2 separate regions of the Homo sapiens genome follow, and region 1 is linked to region 2. The links are contacts of gene promoters, found by promoter capture Hi-C in blood cells and fetal thymus (Javierre and others, 2016). All regions are on one chromosome and are shown on one strand. The core of a region is centred on a gene start or on the middle of the fragment in contact, and the rest is flanking DNA. Distances in the headings are between cores, read along the strand shown.

Evidence for each region. Contacts are between HindIII fragments. The CHiCAGO score rates a contact against its expected background, and 5 or more counts as called.
Region 1: a contact is called between the fragment with the promoter of ZNF836 here and the fragment with the promoter of ZNF347 in region 2, in 5 of 17 cell types (non-activated CD4 T cells, fetal thymus, M1 macrophages and 2 more). The highest score is 8.9, in non-activated CD4 T cells.

Annotation. Positions count from the first base shown.
Region 1 is chr19:52,170,173-52,174,602 of GRCh38, reverse strand. It overlaps ZNF836 (zinc finger protein 836), which reads left to right and starts at 2,982. Exons shown (of 5, transcript NM_001102657.3): 1 at 2,982-3,267. RefSeq lists a silencer at 2,814-2,863 and an enhancer at 3,444-3,583. The HindIII fragment of the contact is 2,622 bases long and covers 2,732-4,430 here.
Region 2 is chr19:53,156,235-53,160,951 of GRCh38, reverse strand. It overlaps ZNF347 (zinc finger protein 347), which reads left to right and starts at 1,899. Exons shown (of 5, transcript NM_032584.3): 1 at 1,899-1,943. RefSeq lists a silencer at 1,717-1,966 and an enhancer at 1,702-1,996. The HindIII fragment of the contact is 5,586 bases long and covers 1-4,717 here.

The DNA.
Region 1 (4,430 bases), core at 1,733-4,232, 990 kb after region 2:
ACTGGGTTTCACCATGTTGGACAGTCTGGTCTTGAACTCCTGACCTCAGGTGATCTACCCACCTCAGCCTCCCAGAGTGCTGGGATTACAGGCGTGAGCCACCATGCCCAGCCCTTTTTTAAGATTTATATTTCTTTCTTACTTAATTACCTACTCATCTGAAGGAAATTTTTTTTTTTAAGACGGAGTATCACTCTGTCCCCAGGCTGGAGTGCAGTGGCGCGATCTCGGCTCACTGCAACCTCCACCTCCCAGGTTCAAGCGATTCCCCTGCCTCAGCCTCCCAAGTAGCTGGGTCTACAGGTGCGTGCCACCACGCCTGGCTAATTTTTTGTATTTTTAGTAGAGACGGGGTTTCACCATGTTAGCCAGGATGGTCTCGATCTCCTGACCTCGTGATCAGCCCCCGTCAGTCTCCCAAAGTGCTGGGATTACAGGTGTGAGCCACAGCCCCCGGCCTTGGAAAAATATACATTTTTTAAATTTTATCTACTTTACAGTTTGGGCGGCCAAGGCAGGAGGCTCACTTGAGCCCAGGAGTTCAAGACCAGCATGGACAACAACGTGAAACCCTATCTCTACAAAAAATTTGAAAATTAGTCAGGTGTGGTGGCACATGCCTGTAGTGCCAGTGTATTAGTTTGTTCTCACATTGCTATAAAGAAATACCTGAGATTGGGTAATTTATAAAGAAAAGAGGTTTAATTGGCTCATGGCTCTGCAGGCTGTACAGGAAGCATGATGCTGGCATCTGCTTGGCTTCTGGAGAGGCCTCAGAAAACTTACAATTATGGCAGAAGGTGAAGGGGAGGCAAGTACTTCACATGCCCAGACAGGAGGAAGACAGAGAATGGGGAGGTGCCACACACTGTTTTTTTTGAGCCTAGGTTGGAGGGCAGTGGCACGATCTTGGCTCACTGCAACCTCCGCCTCCCGGGTTCAAGCGATTCTCCTGCCTCAGCCTCCCAAGTAGCTGAGATTACAGGTGCGTGACACCACACCCGGCTAATTTTTCTTTTTTTTTTTTTAAGAGACAGAGTCTCACCCTGTCACCCAGGCTGGAGTGCAGTGGCGCGATCTCGGCTCACTGCAAGCTCTGCCTCCCAGATTCAAGCAATTCTCCTGCCTCAGCCTCCCGAGTAGCTGGCACTAAAGGCATGCGCCACCACACCTGGCTAATTTTTGTATTTTCAGTAGAGATGGGGTTTCACCATGTTGGCCAGGCTGGTCTCAAACTTCTGAGCTCAAGTGATCCATCCACCTTGACCTCCCAAAGTGCTGGGATTACAGGCATGAAGCACTGCTTCCAGCCAAATTTCCTCTTATCAAAACATCAGTCAGATTGCATCAGAGCCCATTCTAACAAGCTTAGTTTAACTTAATAGCCTCTAAATGCCCTATTTCAAAATACAGTCATATTCTGAGGTACTGGGTGTTAGAACTTAAAGACAATGATTTATTTTATTTTATTTATTTATTTATTTTTTGAGACAGAGTCTCGCTTTGCCGCCCAGGCTGGAGTGCAGTGGCTGGATCTCGGCTCACTGCAAGCTCCGCCTCCTGGGTTCACGCCATTCTCCTGCCTCTGCCTCCGGAGCAGCTGGGACCACACGCACCCGCCACCACGCCCGGCTAATTTTTTGCATTTTTAGTAGAGACAGGGTTTCACCGTGTTAACCAGGATGGTCTCGATCTCATGACCTTGTGATCCGCCCGCCGCGGCCTCCCAAAGTGCTGGGATTATAGGCATGAGCCACCGCGCTTGGCCAACAATGATTTTTTAGGGACGTGATTCAGCTCATAACATTCTGTACTCTGGACTCCCAAAATTCATGTCCTTCTCACATGCAAGATCCCTTCACCCCCATCCTAACATCTCAAAAGTCTTATTATTATTATTTTTTGAGACAGAGTCTCACTCTGTTGCCCTGGCAGCAGTTCAGTGGTGCAAAGACAACTCATTGCAGCCTTGATCCCCTGGGCTCAAGAGATCCTCCCACCTCAGCCTCCCAAATAGCTGTGACTATAGGCGTGAGCCACCATGCCTGGCTAATTTTTGTATTTTTTGTAGAGACAAGGGTCTTACTATGTTGCCCCAGGTTGGTCTTGAATTCTTGAGCTCAAGCAATCCTTCCACCTTGGCCTCCCAAAGAGCTGGGATTACAGGCCAGAGCCACTGCTCCTGGCCCATTTCAAAAGTCTTAATCCATTTCAGTATCAAACTCTAAGGCCCAAATATTACCCAAATATTATCTGAATCACATATGGGTGAGACTCAAAGTGTGGTTCATCCTGAGGCAAAATTTCTGTCCAGCTGTGAAACTGTGAAGCCAAAGAAGCTATTTGCTTCCAAAATACAATGGTGGGACAGGCACAGGATAGACCGTCAGCCCTGGAAACCACCCTTCTACTCTGTTACTGTAATTTTGATGTTTGTAGATTGCACATGTAAGTAAGCACATGCAGGATTTGTCTTTCTGTGTCTAGCACATTTCGCTTAGCATAATGTCTTCAGGGTTCCTGGATCCAGCCACGGCTGCACATCAGATCTTCACGGAGATCCTAGTTCCCTGACTACTGAGTAACTTCAGCCTTAACTGGCTTCAGCCTCACTGGCAAGACCCGATGGAGTCCACCAGGCTCGCAAAAATCGATTTTGACTTAAATCAGTTCAACTTGACAAGAAGAAAACATCTTAGTTTCCAACAGAAGTGGACCACAACTTTAAGCTTTGACCTTAAAGTCTAAAACATTAACTTAAAATAGGCAGGAAGCAACGCTGCTTCACAGGACAAGAAATAGTCACAAATACTCCTAAATCGGGAGAACAAAGACTTGCTGGGTGGAAGGCAGAGCGAATAACAGGCCCCGCCCACCAAACAGGTCCCGCCCACACCGCCCGTCCCGCTTAGCCCACCTGGCCCCGCCCACTACCGCATCAGCCTTGCCCCACCCTTTCAGGGTTCCCAAATCTGGCCAGTCTTTCTGCCCTTTCCCTTGCGGGTCGCACCCCGCCCAGGCCCCTCTCCCGCCCCAGGTCTCTCAGTCTTTTTTCTCAGGGCGTGTAGCTTCCTGCACACCCGGAAGCAGATCGCGCGGGGAAAAGATCACAGCGCTGCGCGTCAGTTTCCGTCTACCTGGACTAAACATTTGCTTCGCCCCGTCTGCCTGAATCGAACGTGCACTTGGCAGTCTTCCCTTGTCCATACCCGTTTCCTGGGGATCGCTACGGACCTTAAAATACCAGCAACAGCCCCTTCGCCCCAAGTAAGTCTGATAATTGCTTCCCTTTCGGTTTAAAAATCTCTCTGAGGCTGTTCCTTGCTCCCTGCCTTTCTGCCTTAGGACCATGTAGACAACCCCACTCAGGTCGTGTTCCTGCTTAAAACCCTTACTGACCTCTGCTTCGGCCCTGCGCCAAGTCGAGTCCTCACTCGGGAGGTGGATTCCCGCCCGTTGCGACCCCGGAGCTTCTCCGTCGTCAGCCCCTGGAGGGGAGCGCCCGCCGTCCGGCTCCTGAAGGAGTCGCTTCTCCTCCCAGGTCCTGGGATTCTGCAGACCCTCCCTGTCCTGAGACACCGTACCCCCTGCCACCTTGTGTCCTCCTCACGCCGGGTCCTTTCGCTCCCCAGGCTTCCCCTTCACAGCCACTGCTTTTCTCGATCCCCCCCTTGGGGGAGGTCACCTGAGTCTTGTGACACCCAGTGTTCTTCCTTCCCAAATTTTACTCCACTGGAAAATATGCTTTTCCGGGAGGTGGGCATCCTATTCCTCCCCTTTCTTACTGAATGTGTGGGTGAGAGGGATCAGGAGAGGAAAAGAAGGGGAGCGACGGAGCAAAAGGAAAGACCGAATAGAAGAGAATGAGGGAGACCCATAAATACACGGCAAAATGGATGATAATTTAGGGATTTGCAAAGAGACAGCAAGAGTGAAAGAGAACGAATGGAGAAAGAAGCAGGGGGAGGAAAGCACACAGAGAAATTTAGAAAAAAAGGGGGACCTTCAGAGAGATGAAAGGCAGCAAAATAGAGTGGGGCGGCAAAGGAGGAGGCACTGCAGACAGACAGTGGGGAGAAGGTGAAAGAGTTGGAGCCGCAGCCGACAGAGCTACGTGGTGCTGGGACTGAAAGAGAGGGAGAGAGGGCAGTGGGTGACAAGCAGAGTAGAGGGAGAACCACAGCAGGGAGGAAGCCTAGGGAGTTGGGGGTGCTAGAGAGTGGGAACAAAGGAGGTGTAACAGGTAAGAGGGAATTTTAACAAGGAGAGCAGAGAGGGAGCTCAGATGGGGAAAAAGAGGCGGAAATACGTGGAGATTGGGGACAATCAGAAAGATTGGGGAGAAAGAGCTACGAGAGGTGAAGTAAGTTGCAGAGCATCGGGCAGAACAGACATAAAGAGGAGAAAAACAGAAAAGGGGAGGAAAGGTG
Region 2 (4,717 bases), core at 650-3,149:
CTGGGACTACAGGCATGTGCCACCACGCCTGGCTAATTTTTGTATTTTTAGTAGAGACAGTTTCACCATGTTGGCCAGGCTGGTCTCGAACTCCTGACCTCAAGTGATCCACCCGCCTCTGCCTCCCAAAGTGCTGGGATTACAGGTGTGAGCCACCACGCCCTGCCCTAGTTTTCTTGATAGTAATATTCTACATTTATTCTTCCGCTGTACCCATAGGACTCATTAAAAATAACACAACTGTTGAAAATGTTTTTGAAATCCTGTTTAGTTATAATGCCTAAGATGTTTTTATACTAACTCAGTGAAAATCTGTGGAAAAGTTTCTTACATAATAAATATGATTAAGCAGTTTTACTGGAAGGGCATTTCTCCAAAGGCTATGGAAATGTTATTTTCAGTTTATGGTATTGAGCAATATATTTCATGGTTTATGTTCAATTGTAGTAAAATTACTTTTTATTTTTTAATATGATTTTCCCTTTTATTTTTTTCTTTCATATATTGTAACCCAGATGAAACGTTTAATATTTTGTTAAAGTGAAAACTATACGGTGTATATAAATAAGGGTGTTGTTTGGAGATAAAATTGTGTGACATGAAAATGTACATAAGACAATAGCAGGTATAAACTAGGTTCTCTATAAACATGAAAAAAGGGTATCCCTGTGAGTCTTTAGTTCAGTCAATGTACTGGGATGGTACGTTAGAAATACTGGAAAACTATTCTTTAGGCGAAAATAAATCCAATTGTCATGTGGTGACTATTTTCCACACTCTGTTATCCACATCTGATAGAACATTAAGAAACAGAAAACAAAAAAATAGACCCAATATAGATTACAATTTTAAAATAAAAAGTACTGTGTCAAGTTCCCTTCAGAATGCCCATAAAGTGAATTTGAAATTACATGATATTTAGAAATTATTGATTTAAGCATATTTTGATGCAAAGAAAGATTATGTCAAAGTTGTTTGTGGTTAAGTCATTTCAAGTGTGGAACGGAATAACGAATATAAGCAAAAATAATGCAGTTTATCTCTATTTTTTAAAAATTCACATGGTTTAAATCAGTAGTTGACTGGGCACAGTAGTTCACTCCTGTAATCCCAGCAATTTTGGAGGCCCAGGCAGGAGGATTGCTTGAGGTCAAGAGTTGGAGACCAGCCTGGGCCGAGACTCCCATCTTTACAAAAATATATGTTTTAAAGAACAATAAAGCAGCCCTTGGTGATCTAACTTATCGGCCTTAACCTTCCCATGAATTGAGCACAGGCTTGACTCTTCCACTGGGGAGAATGGGGATTTGAAATGTAAAGGAGGTTCTGTTGGGCTACTGCATTAAATTGCATATCCGTCCAGGTAGGATGCTGCATTTCCCATTCTACTTTGAATCATCCTCAGAGATAATTTCCAGACATTTTAGTTAAATTAAATACATTTTAATTGCAGGAATTGCTGGATCCAATCGCCGTGCCTCGTGGATCCTCCACTAAGATCCCAGTTCCCAGACCGAGATCCCCGATTCCCAGATCCCCGTTCCTGAGCTGCAGCAGACTCCCTAGCAGGACTGGGTCCAACCCGCCGGCAAACAATTTTAACATAAACCGTTTTCAACTTGGTAAGAGGAAATCATTTTGGTTTCTATCATAAGTGGTCCACGTAAGTCTATTCTTTCACCTTAAAACTGCTTCAAATTGGAACGGTGCTCCCGGGGACATAGTGAACACTCCAGCGTTTCTAAACCGGGAAAAATGAGACTGCGGGCTAGGCAGGCTGAGGGAAGCGCAGACCCCGCCCCAGCTCCGCCCCAGCGTTTCGTCCGCAGACCCCGCCTCTCCCCAGGCCCCGCCCCCAGAGTGCCCGGGCTCTTTTCCGCGCACGCGCAGTTTTCTGCAGTTCCGGAAGCGGATCGTGTTGGGTGCGGGTGACGCCGCCGAGCGTGAGTGTCCCTCAGTATGGATTAAACTTGCGAACCGCCGTGCCCCGTTTCCGCAGCCAGTTCCCGGGCTCGCTACAGACCTTTTTTTTTTTCTTTTTTTTTTTTTTTGGTGAGACGGAGATTTACTCTTGTTGTCCAGGCTGGAGTGCAATGGCGCGATTTCGGCTCACCGCATCCTCCGCCTCCCAGGTTCAAGCGATTCTCCTGCCTCAGCCTCCCGAGTAGCTGGGATTACAGGCATGTGCCACCACGCCCGGCTAATTTTGTATTTTTAGTAGAGACGGGGTTTCACCGTGTTGCCCAGGCTGATCTCGAACTCCTGACCTCAGGTAATCCGCCCGCCTCGGCCTCCCAAAGTGCTGGGGTTACAAGCGTGAGCCACTGCGCCCGGCAGCTACAGACCTTAAGATCCCCGCACCGCGCCCTCCACCCCAGCTGACTCGCGGTGTGGGTTCGGAGTCGCTTCTCTTTGGGTTGAAGTAGCTCTGAGGCTTCTCCCTGTCCCCGGCCTTTCGCGTCTTCCTCCCGCTTAAAACCCTTTCCTGACCCCTCCTCCCGCCCCGGGCTTTTTAAAGTCCTCGCCCGCGAGGTGGATTCCCGCCCTGGGTGCCTCCCAGCCTCGCCCTCGTCGGCCCCTGGAGCGCAGCTCCTCAGCCCCGGTACCGGCGAGGCCGCGTCCTCTGCCTGGTCCTGGCATCCTGCAGACCCCACCCCTCTTCTAAGGCGCCGTCGCCCCGCCACCTCCCTCCTCCTCGTGCCGGGCCCTGCTGCTCCCCAGGCCTCCCCTTCGCAGTCCCCGCTTCTCCTGAGCCCGCGCTGGGGAGGTGCCCGGGGCCTGTCCTGTGACACCCGGTGTTCTTGCCTGCCCAGCTCCAGCCCCTGGAAAATGCGCTCCTCCAAGATGCAGGCGTCTTAGTCCAAACCTTCCTGTGAATGTGTGGACCAAGGGGATTAGCAGGTAGAGAAAGGGGCAGAGACAGAGAGAGAAGTAGAAAAACTGAGAGGAAAGAGTGAGGGAAACCCGTAACCAGATGGCAAAGTAGAGGATGGGCGAGGGATTTGCAGATGGTAAGAGAAGGAGCTGAGAAGGCAGAAGGAGAAAAGCAACTGGGGAAATGTAGAGAAAAGCTCGATGTCCAGAGACATGAAGGACAGCAAGGTAGGGAGAGGGCCAGAAAGTGGGAGGCTCCTCAGACAGAGTCCGGGAGAGGAGGAGGGATTTGGAGCCAGGGCAGACAAGCAGCGTGGTGCTGGGACAGCAAGAGGGGACAGCCGGTGACGAGGAGAGCAGAAGGAGAACCACAGCAGGGGGAGGCCTGGGATCTGGGGGTGCCAGAGAGTGGGGCAAGAGGTGTAGAAGGGAAGAGGAGATTCAACAGAGGGAGCAGAGATGGGAGAAGAAAGAGGCAGAAATATATGGAGACTGGGGACAATGAAAAGACTGGGGAGAAAGAGGAATCAGAGTTGAAACAAGGCCCCAGAATGGGACAGAACAGGTGCAAGCGGAGGAAGAAGGGGAGAAATAGCAGGAGATGAGAGGGGCTCAGAACGACGCGCAAAGAACCAGGGGAAAAACACAGAAAATAAAAAATAAGCTAATGTGAGAATGAGAGCTATGTAGAGGATGAGGGAGGGAAACACACAGTATGGAAGCAAGAGAGGGACCCTGAGTCCAGGTGAGTGGTGCGTTGATTAGATGTGATGATGACATTGTGACATTGGTTTCTGGGTTTAAAATAATGCAACACATTTAAAATACGTTTACTTAAATTATGCAGTTGCAAATGAGAATGGAAGAAACTCCTTTATGTAAAATGCGTAACACGTGCATTTGACAATTATTAGTATTAGGGTATAGCTTCATTTGCAATCACTATTCAAACCAGAGGGCAGTGACTTCGCTCATTTAGTTTTGAGTCCACCCACTTCCCTTTTCCTGGAATAGGGTAGGGTGTGGGCGAGTGTATGAACTAAGAGGAAAAAATATTTTTCCTTTGATTTTCTTTCCTGTCACACTCAATACAACAGGGCACATTCTACACAGTGTCTCGCCTCCACTCACGAAAATGTGTGCGGATTTCTCCCACCAACAACCCGTTCTCTATCAGACACTAACTGAGTGTCGTATAGTTTAACTCAATTCTGAAACTCTCTACCTGGAGTTAGCATCAGATCCCACTGATTGAGGCTCAGTTCCACGAAATTGCCCCCGCATCAGGTGCCAGTTGTAAGTCTCCCGTTGGTACCTGAACTTCTGAGCGACCAGCTATACACTGGGGATTCCCTTGACATCCCCCTCCCCACCACCTCAGGTTCTATTAATTTGTGAGGGCGGCTCAAAGAACTCAGGGAAAACACTTCACTTAGTTTACACATTTGTTATGAAGGATATTACAGAAGATACAGATGAACAGTCAGAAGGAAGAGCTGTCCTAGAAAGTTAATCAAAGCCGAGGAGGGGTTAAGAGAACCACAGTATTTATCAGGTCACTCAAAAGTATAAGTGACAGTTACCACTGGCATACTGTGTCTGAAGTGAGGGGCAGTTTTAGACTGAGCTCTGAACCTGTAGCACCTCGTCATGCAGTCTTTTTTTTTTTTTCTTTTTGAAACAGTCTCGCTCTGTTGTCCAGGCTGGAGTGCAGTGGCGCAATCTTGGCTCAAGGCAGCCTCTGCCTCCCGAGTTCAAGCGATTCTCCTGCCTGCCTCAGCCTCCCAAGTAGCTGGGATTACAGGTGTGCACCACCACATCCAGCTAATTTTTGTATTTTTAG